Regions from separate parts of the Homo sapiens genome. Here region 2 is linked to region 1. The links are contacts of gene promoters, found by promoter capture Hi-C in blood cells and fetal thymus (Javierre and others, 2016). All regions are on one chromosome and are shown on one strand. Each heading gives the region's core, a stretch centred on a gene start or on the middle of the fragment in contact. The rest is flanking DNA. Distances are from core to core; before and after follow the strand shown.

What was found. Contacts are between HindIII fragments. The CHiCAGO score rates a contact against its expected background, and 5 or more counts as called.
Region 2: a fragment that was not itself captured here is called in contact with the fragment with the promoter of CNNM1 in region 1 in 1 of 17 cell types (total CD4 T cells); the score reaches 5.2 in total CD4 T cells.

The regions. Positions count from the first base shown.
Region 1 is chr10:99,326,734-99,331,884 of GRCh38, forward strand. It overlaps CNNM1 (cyclin and CBS domain divalent metal cation transport mediator 1), which reads left to right and starts at 2,623. Exons shown (of 11, transcript NM_020348.3): 1 at 2,623-4,227. The coding sequence starts at 2,655. The HindIII fragment of the contact is 5,728 bases long and covers 1-5,151 here.
Region 2 is chr10:98,466,015-98,471,165 of GRCh38, forward strand. All of the region lies in intron 11 of HPSE2 (heparanase 2 (inactive)), which reads right to left. Among named protein-coding and RNA genes, the nearest start is that of HPS1, 22 kb to the left of the region's middle. RefSeq lists silencers at 1,833-1,882, 1,933-2,032. The HindIII fragment of the contact is 5,922 bases long and covers 151-5,151 here.

The DNA of each region.
Region 1 (5,151 bases), core at 1,373-3,872:
TTCCCTTATACTTCGAATAAATGCCTCAATGTTCCCTCATAAGATTAAACCTCCCTTCTGTCTCTTAAGTAGCCCATGCAAAAAGCAGCTTATAGTGGACAGGATCTAGTGTATTCTGAGACAATGGCATGTCACAAATGCCACGGAAAATGAGATTTCACACATAGGGATGATTTTACACTAAACCCAGGTGCCAAGGGTGGTATGTAAAATAACTCTTCCTTTTTAATTTATTAATTATTTTTAGAGACAAGGTTTCATGCTGTTGCCCAGGCTGGAGTGCAGTGATGCGATTATAGCTCACTGCAGCTTCGAATTCCTGGGCTCAAGTGATCCTCTTGCTGCAGCCTCCCAAGTAGATGAAACTACAGGCATGTGTCGCCATGCCTGGCTAATTTTTTTTAATTTTTAATTTTTTAGAGACAGGGCCTCCCTACATTGTTCCGGCTGGTCTCTAACTCCTGGCCTCAAGAGATCCTCCCACTTCAGCCTACCAAGTAGTTAGGATTACTATATTTTAAAATGTAATACAGACTTATGATAAATTTACCCAAGAGAAATAAAAATTTATGTTCTCACAAAAACCATCACACAAATGTTCATAGCCACTTTATTAATAATTGCTAAAAACTGGAAATAACTTAAATATCCTTTATTGAATGGATAAACAAACAGTGACACATCCATATAATGGAATGCTACTCAGCCATACAAAAGGATGAACTACTGAAAATCACAACAACATAGATGAATCGTAAATGCATTATGCTAACTTAGTAAAGGAAGGGAGAACCCAAAAGGCTACAGACTGTATTCTCCATTTATATGATAATCCGGAAAAGAAAACTATAGGGGAGAACAGATCAGTAGTTCCCAGAGGATAAGACGAAGGGAGGGGTTGACTACATACAATAGGACGGTAAGAGAATTTGGGGGGTGGTGGTGATGGAATTACTTTTTATTGTGATGTTTACATGTATATGCATTTGTCAACATTCATAGAACAGTACACCAAAAAGTGAATTTTACTATATAAAGTTTAAAAATAAATGCATAAAAATAATATAGTCGAGTAAATTCAAACAATATAAGGAATTTAATAAGAAAGTCTCCCTCCCAGATCTTGGTGATAATAGATCTGTATTTTGAGTGCAGTGATGGTCACATACATCCATACATGTGATAAAATGATAGAGAACTATATACACACATTACACCAATATCAACTTCCTGCTTTTGATATTGTACTATAATTAAGATGTAACCCGCCAGGCACGGTGGCTCATGCCTGTAATCCCAGCACTTTGCGAGGCCGAGGCAGGCGGATCACCTGAGGTCAGGAGTTCGAGACCAGCCTGGCCAACGTGGTGAAACCCCGTCTCTACCAAAAAAAAAAAAAAAAAAAATTAGCCGGGCGTGATGGCGGGCGCCTGTAATCCCAGCTACTCAGGAGGCTGAGGTAGGAGAATCGCTTGAACCTGGAAAGCGGAGGTTGCAGTCAGCCGAGATCGCGCCATTGCACGTCAGCCTGGGTGACAAGAGCGAAACTCCGTCTCAAAATAAATAAATTAATTAAAAGATGTAAACGGCGGGTCGCGGTGGCTCACGCCTGTAATCCCAGCACCCTGGGAGGCCGAGGCAGATGGATCATTTGAAGTCAGGGATTCGAGACCAGCTTGGCCAACATGGTGAGACCCCATCTCTACTAAAAATATAAAAATTAGCTGGGCGCGGTGGCGCACGCCTGTAATCCCAGCTACTCAGGAGGCTGAGGTAGGAGAATCGCTTGAACCCGGGAGGTGGAGGTTGCAGTGAGCCAAAATTGTGCCACTGCACTCCACCCTGGGCGACAGAGCAAGACTCCATCTCAAAATAAATAAATAAATAAATAAATCTCATATAAGTGTGTGTGTGTGTACAAATTTATACATAAATACTTTTAACACAAATGGTAGCATATTATACTTGCTGTTCTGCACCTTACTTTGTTTCTACAATTACTTTGGAGATTTTTTTCCGTATCACATATACAACAGATCCACCGCATTATTTTTTATTGCCGCATAGTATTCCATTGCACAGTGGTTTCACTTATTTCAACAGTTTCTTATTGATGGACATTCGGATCTTAACTAAGAATTGAACTTAAATAATCCAGAAATGTTTACAATAATGAAAGGTCGGCTGGAGTTGAGGCTAAAAGTTTTCACATATTCAAGACTTGACTCCAGAATATTCTTTTGACCAGAAGGGGGAATGCAAGTGGCAGGAGAAGCGAAAAGCTGGGAAATTTCCCGGGCCAATGGGGAAGCAGTGGAGCCGGCAGGGAATTACTGCCGGGTAGGAGTTCGCAGAGGAGCACCTTACTTTTGGAGTAGGAGGCCATGCTGCAAACCCAGACTTTTCAGGCTGCATCTCAGATATACCGAAGTGTGTACCCGCTACGCACAGTGCGGTGATGCCTGGCCACCTCCAGCCTCCAGCGGGGACCTCCTGCCCAGGTGGAGTCTGAATGCCCACCGCCACCAGCCCACGCGCGCAGTGGGCGTACACGTGGTGACCTGCCTGCGGCTGGGTTCCCAGCTCCGGCTCCTCCTCCCTCCAGCTCTCGCTCGGCTTCCTGCAGTATCACGTGCAGCTGCGCTGGGTGCAGGATGGCGGCGGCCGCGGCGGCGGCAGCAGCGGTGGGTGTCAGGCTCCGGGACTGCTGCAGCCGAGGCGCTGTGCTCCTGCTCTTCTTTTCCCTGTCTCCTCGGCCCCCGGCCGCCGCCGCCTGGCTGCTGGGCCTGCGGCCCGAGGACACTGCTGGAGGCCGCGTGTCCCTGGAGGGGGGCACCCTGCGCGCCGCCGAAGGCACCAGCTTCCTCCTGCGTGTCTATTTCCAGCCAGGACCGCCGGCCACCGCCGCACCGGTGCCCTCACCGACCCTCAACTCGGGGGAGAATGGCACCGGCGACTGGGCTCCGCGGCTCGTGTTCATCGAGGAGCCCCCGGGCGGTGGCGGCGTGGCCCCCAGCGCGGTCCCCACTCGCCCCCCGGGACCGCAGCGCTGCAGGGAGCAGAGCGACTGGGCATCGGACGTGGAAGTCCTGGGGCCCTTGCGTCCCGGGGGCGTGGCAGGCTCGGCCCTGGTCCAGGTGCGAGTGCGGGAGCTGCGCAAGGGCGAAGCGGAGCGGGGCGGCGCGGGCGGTGGCGGGAAGCTCTTTTCACTCTGCGCCTGGGATGGGCGCGCGTGGCACCACCACGGCGCCGCCGGCGGCTTCCTGCTGCGCGTTCGCCCGCGGTTGTACGGCCCAGGCGGGGACCTGCTGCCCCCTGCGTGGCTGCGGGCGCTCGGGGCGCTCCTGCTGCTAGCCTTGTCGGCCCTGTTCAGCGGCCTGCGCCTGAGCCTGCTGTCGCTGGACCCGGTGGAGTTACGGGTGCTGCGGAACAGCGGCTCGGCCGCCGAGCAGGAGCAGGCGCGCCGCGTGCAGGCCGTTCGCGGCAGGGGGACCCATCTGCTCTGCACCCTACTCCTGGGCCAAGCCGGAGCCAACGCGGCCCTGGCTGGCTGGCTGTACACCTCGCTGCCGCCGGGCTTCGGGGGCACCGGGGAAGACTACAGCGAAGAGGGGATCCACTTCCCGTGGCTGCCGGCGCTCGTGTGCACCGGCGCGGTATTCCTGGGCGCCGAAATCTGCCCCTACTCAGTGTGTTCGCGGCACGGGCTGGCCATCGCCTCGCACAGCGTGTGCCTGACCCGGCTTCTGATGGCAGCCGCCTTCCCCGTGTGCTACCCGCTGGGCCGCCTGCTGGACTGGGCGCTGCGCCAGGAGATAAGCACCTTCTACACGCGGGAGAAGTTGCTGGAGACGTTGCGGGCCGCAGACCCCTACAGTGACCTGGTGAAGGAGGAGCTCAACATCATACAGGGTGCCCTGGAGCTGCGCACCAAAGTTGTGGAGGAGGTGCTGACCCCCCTGGGAGACTGCTTCATGCTGCGCTCAGACGCGGTGCTCGACTTCGCCACTGTCTCCGAGATCCTGCGCAGCGGCTACACTCGCATCCCAGTGTACGAGGGTGACCAGCGGCACAACATTGTGGACATTTTATTTGTCAAGGACTTGGCCTTCGTGGACCCCGACGACTGCACCCCGCTCCTCACTGTCACCCGCTTCTACAACCGGCCCCTGCATTGTGTTTTCAATGACACCCGACTGGACACGGTTCTGGAGGAGTTTAAGAAGGGTGAGCAGTAGTCTATCTTCTCCCCCAACTCCTATCCCCTTCAAAGGTATTATCCTTTCCTAACCACGTGAGGCTCTAGGTACCCAAAGCAATTTCTCTCCTATGGTACTAAAAACCCAAGGAAGACTCTACCTCTTGGCTCCCTGGCTATTTTCATCTCACTTCTGCCTCACTTCTTGCTCCTGATTGAGCCCCAGGCCTCTTTCCTCTCTACTTGATTCACAAGATGCACCATATTCCTTATTTGTTCCATTCTACCAGGTTTTTCCAAGGCCTACCAAATGTCAGATACTGTGTAGGTGGGAGATAGCCCTTGAAGGTCATTGCATAGCTCCCCACCTATTACAGGAGACACCTCTGCAGGTTCCCATACAAGCAGCCTTTGCTTTAAACTCCTCCCAGGGCCGAAAGCTCACTATTTACAGAGCAAACTAATTCCATTGCTGGACAGCTCCAGTGGCTGACAATGTTTCCTCATATAGAGCAGAATTTGTGTCTCCAAATCCTTCTACCTCTTCTGCCTTTTGAATCATGTAGACTAAACCCAGACACCTTAGACGTTCTTCCCCATACTTAATTTCCCATCAGGTATTGATTGCACACATATCAAGTACTCAGGTCCAGGGCCGGGCGCGGCGGCTCATGCTTCTAATCCCAGCACTTTGGGAAGCTGAGGCGGGAGGATTACTCGAGCCCAGGAGTTCAAAGCTGCAATGAGCTGTAATCCCACCACTGTACAAAAGAGCAAGACCCTGTCTTTGCCCGGGGGGGAGGGAAGTACTCAGGTTGGGGGTTAAAAGTTGACTAAGGCAGTAGGATCCTTGTAAGTCTGGGAACTGTGGTCCTGTGAAATAGGATAGATCTGGACCTGAAGAAATATTCTGGGTAGAGGAGATCCTAGAAAACTTGCATACCCAAATGAGT
Region 2 (5,151 bases), core at 1,862-4,361, 860 kb before region 1:
CTGGTCACTCCCCCGCTACCCTCCGCCCACCTGTCTACAGTCTCTGGTCTTCATGTCTTATCACTGTTCTCGATAGCCATGGATATTTAAGCAAGGTTTCAACTGTTCTGAGGTGTCAGGGAAGTAAGTCAGGGAGCATGTCCTTTTTAAAGCTTGAAGATAATTTTCTGGACTACAGTCTGGCAAGAGGGGATCTTTAGTGGGGAATTATGTGTTTTATCAGGAGCAGCCTTGGGAGCTGGTGTGTAGTTCAGGCTGGCATAGCATATTTTGGGGCCTTGAGTGGGAGGTGAAGGGACTTAAAGAAAATTGGTTCTGGCCAGGTGCGGTGGCTCACGCCTGTAATCCCAGCACTTTGGGAGGCCGAGGCAGGCGGATCACAAAGTCAGGAGTTCGAGACCAGCCTGGTCAACATGGTGAAACCCTGGCTCTACTAAAAATACAAAAATTAACGGGCGTGGTGGTAGGTGCCTGTAATCCCAGCTACTCAGGAGGCTGAGGCAGGAGAATCGCTTGAACTCGGGAGGTGGAGGTTGCAGTGAGCCGAGATTGCACCACTGCACTCCAGCATAGGTGACAGAGTGAGACTCCGTCTCAAAAAAAAAAAAAAAAAGAAAAGAAAATCAGTTCTGCCTCACCCACCTTCAGAACATTTGCCTTCTCTGAGACTAGTTTCTCCATCTGTAAGGTGAGGGGTGATAGATCAGATGAACCCTAAGATCCCTTCTGGCTTAACCGTTTTTCAGTTGGGTTGCCTATGACTAACAGCTAGCCTAAGGCAAAGTTTTATGCCAAGCCCAGAGTGATCCTGCATAAACAGAAATCTGACCATGATATTGACCTGTCTAAATATTCAGTGGCTTCCCGCTGATCTTAGAACATTGTCTGAAGTCCCCATGCACAGGCCCTATTATCTACTTCTCCAACCGCCAAGAGGCTCACTCTAGCTCCCGCCCCTTCCAGCTCCCTTCCACCCCCACCTCCTTTCATTCTTTACGGCCATTTATCTAATCGCGGCCTAAGCACAGGGGTTTTGCACACGGTTTCCTTCTACCCGGACCTTTCTCCATATGCCCTCCTCCTCCCTTCCAGCTTCCTTCTCCTGGCTAACTCTTACTTGTCCTTCAAGTCAGGGGTGCTCCCACAGGACCCAGTACTTCTTGGATCTCAGCTCCTGTCACACAGTATTGTGACCGCTGAGCTGACTGCTTGTCAGTCTCTCCACTAGATTGGAAGCCCATGTGTCTTACTCATCCGTCACTCTTCTGTCCGCCCACTCACACAGGAGGCGTCAATAAAAGACACATTGGATATAAACACGTGGGCAAAAGAACTACTACCTAGAAGGAAAGACTCTGGACAGGAAGGCCAGAAACCCGTTTTAGTCCAGGCTTGGGACATGAAATGTGCAGGTCTAGGTATGTGACCAGCCGCTTCTGGTCTCAGTTTCTGGATTGTTAAATGATGAGAGAGAGGGAGAGAGGGAAGGGGGAGAGAAAGGAGGAGGGGCAGGGGAGAGATAAGTCCGACTGTGTGTTTGTATGGGCCTGCGCTTGAGTTATCAGCTCCCTTTCCTCCAGTGTGCTTTCCTAGGGGCCACTAGAGGTCACTCTTGTCCTACACAATGGTGCCAGGACAGTCTGACTTCGGGGTGGCACCCAGGAAGCCGGAATGCGTCCGCCTGCCTCCAAATCCCGCACTCCAGTCTCAGGAAGGCCGGGAGATGTGCCCTGCGCTTGGCCTCCCGGAGGAACAAATCACAGAATCAATCAAATCCCAACCAGAACTTCGTTGCGGTCCCGTTGGCAAGGGTCCCACCTGGAATGTGGCCTAATATTAAGGAAACGTGCGAAACGGGACTGCAATTCCTGCAGGGGTGCCGGCTTCCCGGCCAGCGTGCAGAGAACGGGGGGTCCCAGGGCAGGTGCGGGGTCTGCGGCGCCCGCCACGACTCGGCGCTGGGCTCTCCCGGGCTCCGGGTCCCCGGCTGCCCCCGGCCGCCAGTCGGGTCGGCCCCGCACCTGTTTGTGCTTTGCAGGCTCCCGGCCCCCTCGCTGAGCGAGGAAGCTGGTATGTGCAGCTGCCCTGCCCTTCTCCAGGTCAGGGGCAGGTTAGAGTCCCGAGGAGGCCCAGTCAGGTTTGAGGACAGAGGGGCTTTGCTTCCCTTTCCTGCTCGGTGGGGAGACGGTGCATCTGGGGCAGCTTGAACAGGAAGTTCGTCTGAAATTGCCTTGAGTGATGGCTACCACGCTGAGGAAGGCTGCTCAGAAGTGGCCCCTGCAGGTGGTGTCGCCTGGTACCCCATGTCCGGCTGGAGGAAAGGCTCTAAGACCGTCATGACCCTCTCTGGGGTGCTCCCACTCCTCAGGAGTCACGGGGGCAATTACTTCAAGTGTGTCCTGAACTTTTCTTCTATGTGCTTTTTGCTCTACCTGGAATCCGGTGGAATCTCTCAAAAGCCTGTTCTTCCCTCCAGGCCCTGTCAGAGGTAGCCTCCTGCTTGGGACCTCACCTGATAACAAGCTGGGAGAGCGGCACATTATCTGCATCTCCCTTTTAGCGTCCCTCTCAGGCTTATTTTATCTGTGTGCTTGGGTCATTTTGTCTGCTACTGACTTTTCATTTCTCAATTTTCAATAGTATGCGGCTCAGTGCCTTTTTGTCCATGATAGCTGTTTAGTTAATACTTGTTGAGTTCTGCTCAATCAACTGCTCTAGGAGTCATGCCTGGCTGTATGTTCCAATCTCTTCCTCTACTGTTGTTAACAGAGAGGACTGTAAGGGATAGAGAGAGAAAATGGGGAAAATAGTATCCTGTTCCCTTGCCCTTCCAACAGCCCATACCCTATTTGGAGTTCCTTGTCCCTAAGACATTTTGAGGCTGAGAAGTTTATTTGCCCTCCATCCTACCCTCTGAGGGACACGCTGAAATGGTGAGCAGTTTTGATCTAGCTTCTGTATCACTGACCAGAGAAAATACCAGGACCCTTTATACAAGGAGAGCTGGGGGTTTTGTAGGCAAGTTGTTAGGGATATAGGCTTTTCCTGGATGTAGTGTGGTTTGGGGGTCAGGATTTGATCTGTATTCTATCCAAGTCTGTGTAATAGTGATCCAATCCATAATGGACTCTACCATGTGCTTCTAATGGCTTAAAATAATTTAGCACACTTGGCAGACAAGATGAGAGCCTGACTAAGGAACCTGGATTTATACTGATATTGTTAACTCCCAGCAGATGAGGGAATCATCTGGGGGAAGTTTGGAAAGAAAATCTGATCCTGCAGCCATCTCAAAGCTCCATGTCATAGGCATATCACACTCAAACCACAGGACACAATAGGAACCAGCTATAAAAACCATGGAGACTTCAGCATGTGGTTAACTATGTCCCCCTACCACTGTAAAGAATTGGTGCCATCATCATCAACATTTACAAGTAGTGTTTAAGGGGCATTATTCATAGTTCCATCGTTCTTTTCATTGTACCAATTAAATTACAATAGACTTACTCCTTGTCTTCTAAGAAAACACTGAAATATGCAAATGTCTGAGCAGACACACCATATAAAGATATTACACAAAGAGCAGGAAGGGAGGAAAATCAGACTTAGCCTGGATTTCAAGGCCTTCTGCAGTCTGGGCTTATTATGTGTTTGTGGCCTTTCCCTTTGCCCCACAAAGCATCCTGTATTCCAGTCACATGAGATGATTTGCCACCTCCCAAACAAAATGAGCCTTGAACTTCTGTACTTCCAAACCCTTAGTGATCTCATCCTGTTGCTGGAAGTTGCCTTTCCTACAGCCTTTCCTAGAAGTATGGCACATCCTTCCAGCTCCAGCTCCACGGCCTTCAGCCCTGAGACTTTTCAGATTCCCAAGTCAGAATTCATCTCTCTCTTTCTCATAATCCCATCTCCTATATTTACCCTTAGGTGGTCTGTTTTGTCTCTGAGTTACGGTAGCCTCTGTGGAGAGGGACCAGGTTTCCCCAGTCCTAATTGTGTGGAGCTGGAGGAGAGAATGTGGGGCTACAAAGCATCCCCTTTACAGCAGTCTACAGGTGGAGTGAAGACAGGTAGGAAGGCAGGTGTGTGTGTGTGTGTGTGTGTGTATGCACACATGTTAACACACGTTTTAAACATAACATGTTTAGTTATGTTTAACACACATGTTAAGGTGATAAATACCTGTTTTATTAACTTTTGACAAAGTATTCCCCATGACATCAGGTGTACTGGTATAATCTCAAAAGGGAAAAAAGATGTCTCAGGTGGTACAGGCTCTGTTCCAGATCCCACAGATATCCAAGTGCAAAGTGTGGGGTGACTCTGAATCATTGTTGCAAGGGTAAGCAGGGAAGGCTAGTCTGCACGGGTATTGCTGGTGTTTGGCAGTGGGTCCACAGTTTAATGCTCCAGGCCCCTTGTCTGGAATGAGCCCACATCCTGCCCTGGGCTTCCTGATGCTTAGCAGCCAAAGAAACACCAATTCAGGGCCCAGGCCCCACTATAGGGATAAGCTGGATTAGAACTTTCAGTTCCTTAAGGCTTACATTTCTTCATCACAGCCTCTGGAAGGTGCAGGGGAAGAAGAAGACGAGGGCCATTTCTTCTCAGTCAGCCAGAACTGCCCACATATTCTGCTGCTCTCTCACTTTAGAATCAACTGTTTAGAAATATGTTAGCTCTACCCTAACTTGCCCATTTACAGGTGTTTCGTCTAGGTCATCTGGGACAGAATGGAAATCCCTGCCTACAACGAGGGTCCCTAAGTGAGTGGAGGTGAAGAGGGGATACCACAGCCTTAATGGACAGCTACGCAGAGAGTTTCCAGCTGCTGGGAGTGAACTGGAGGAAAATATATTCTGGATCTGAGAACAAACAAAAAACTCTCGGAAAATAACAGTGAAAAGCCTAGATTCCTAAACATCTTGGTTTAAAATGTCAAGTCGCTGTAAAACATAAAAGCATTTCATAATCCTCTAATCGGCACAGTGATCTCCACATTAGTAATCTGGGAGTTAAAACAAAACAAACAATAAAACCTTTGAGAAGCCAGCACTCATCCTTCCACTCAGTCACAGAGAACTCCCAGGGGCTCATGGCATGTTCACACCTTTGGCAAAATGGCATAGCGCCTGAATGAAGAAT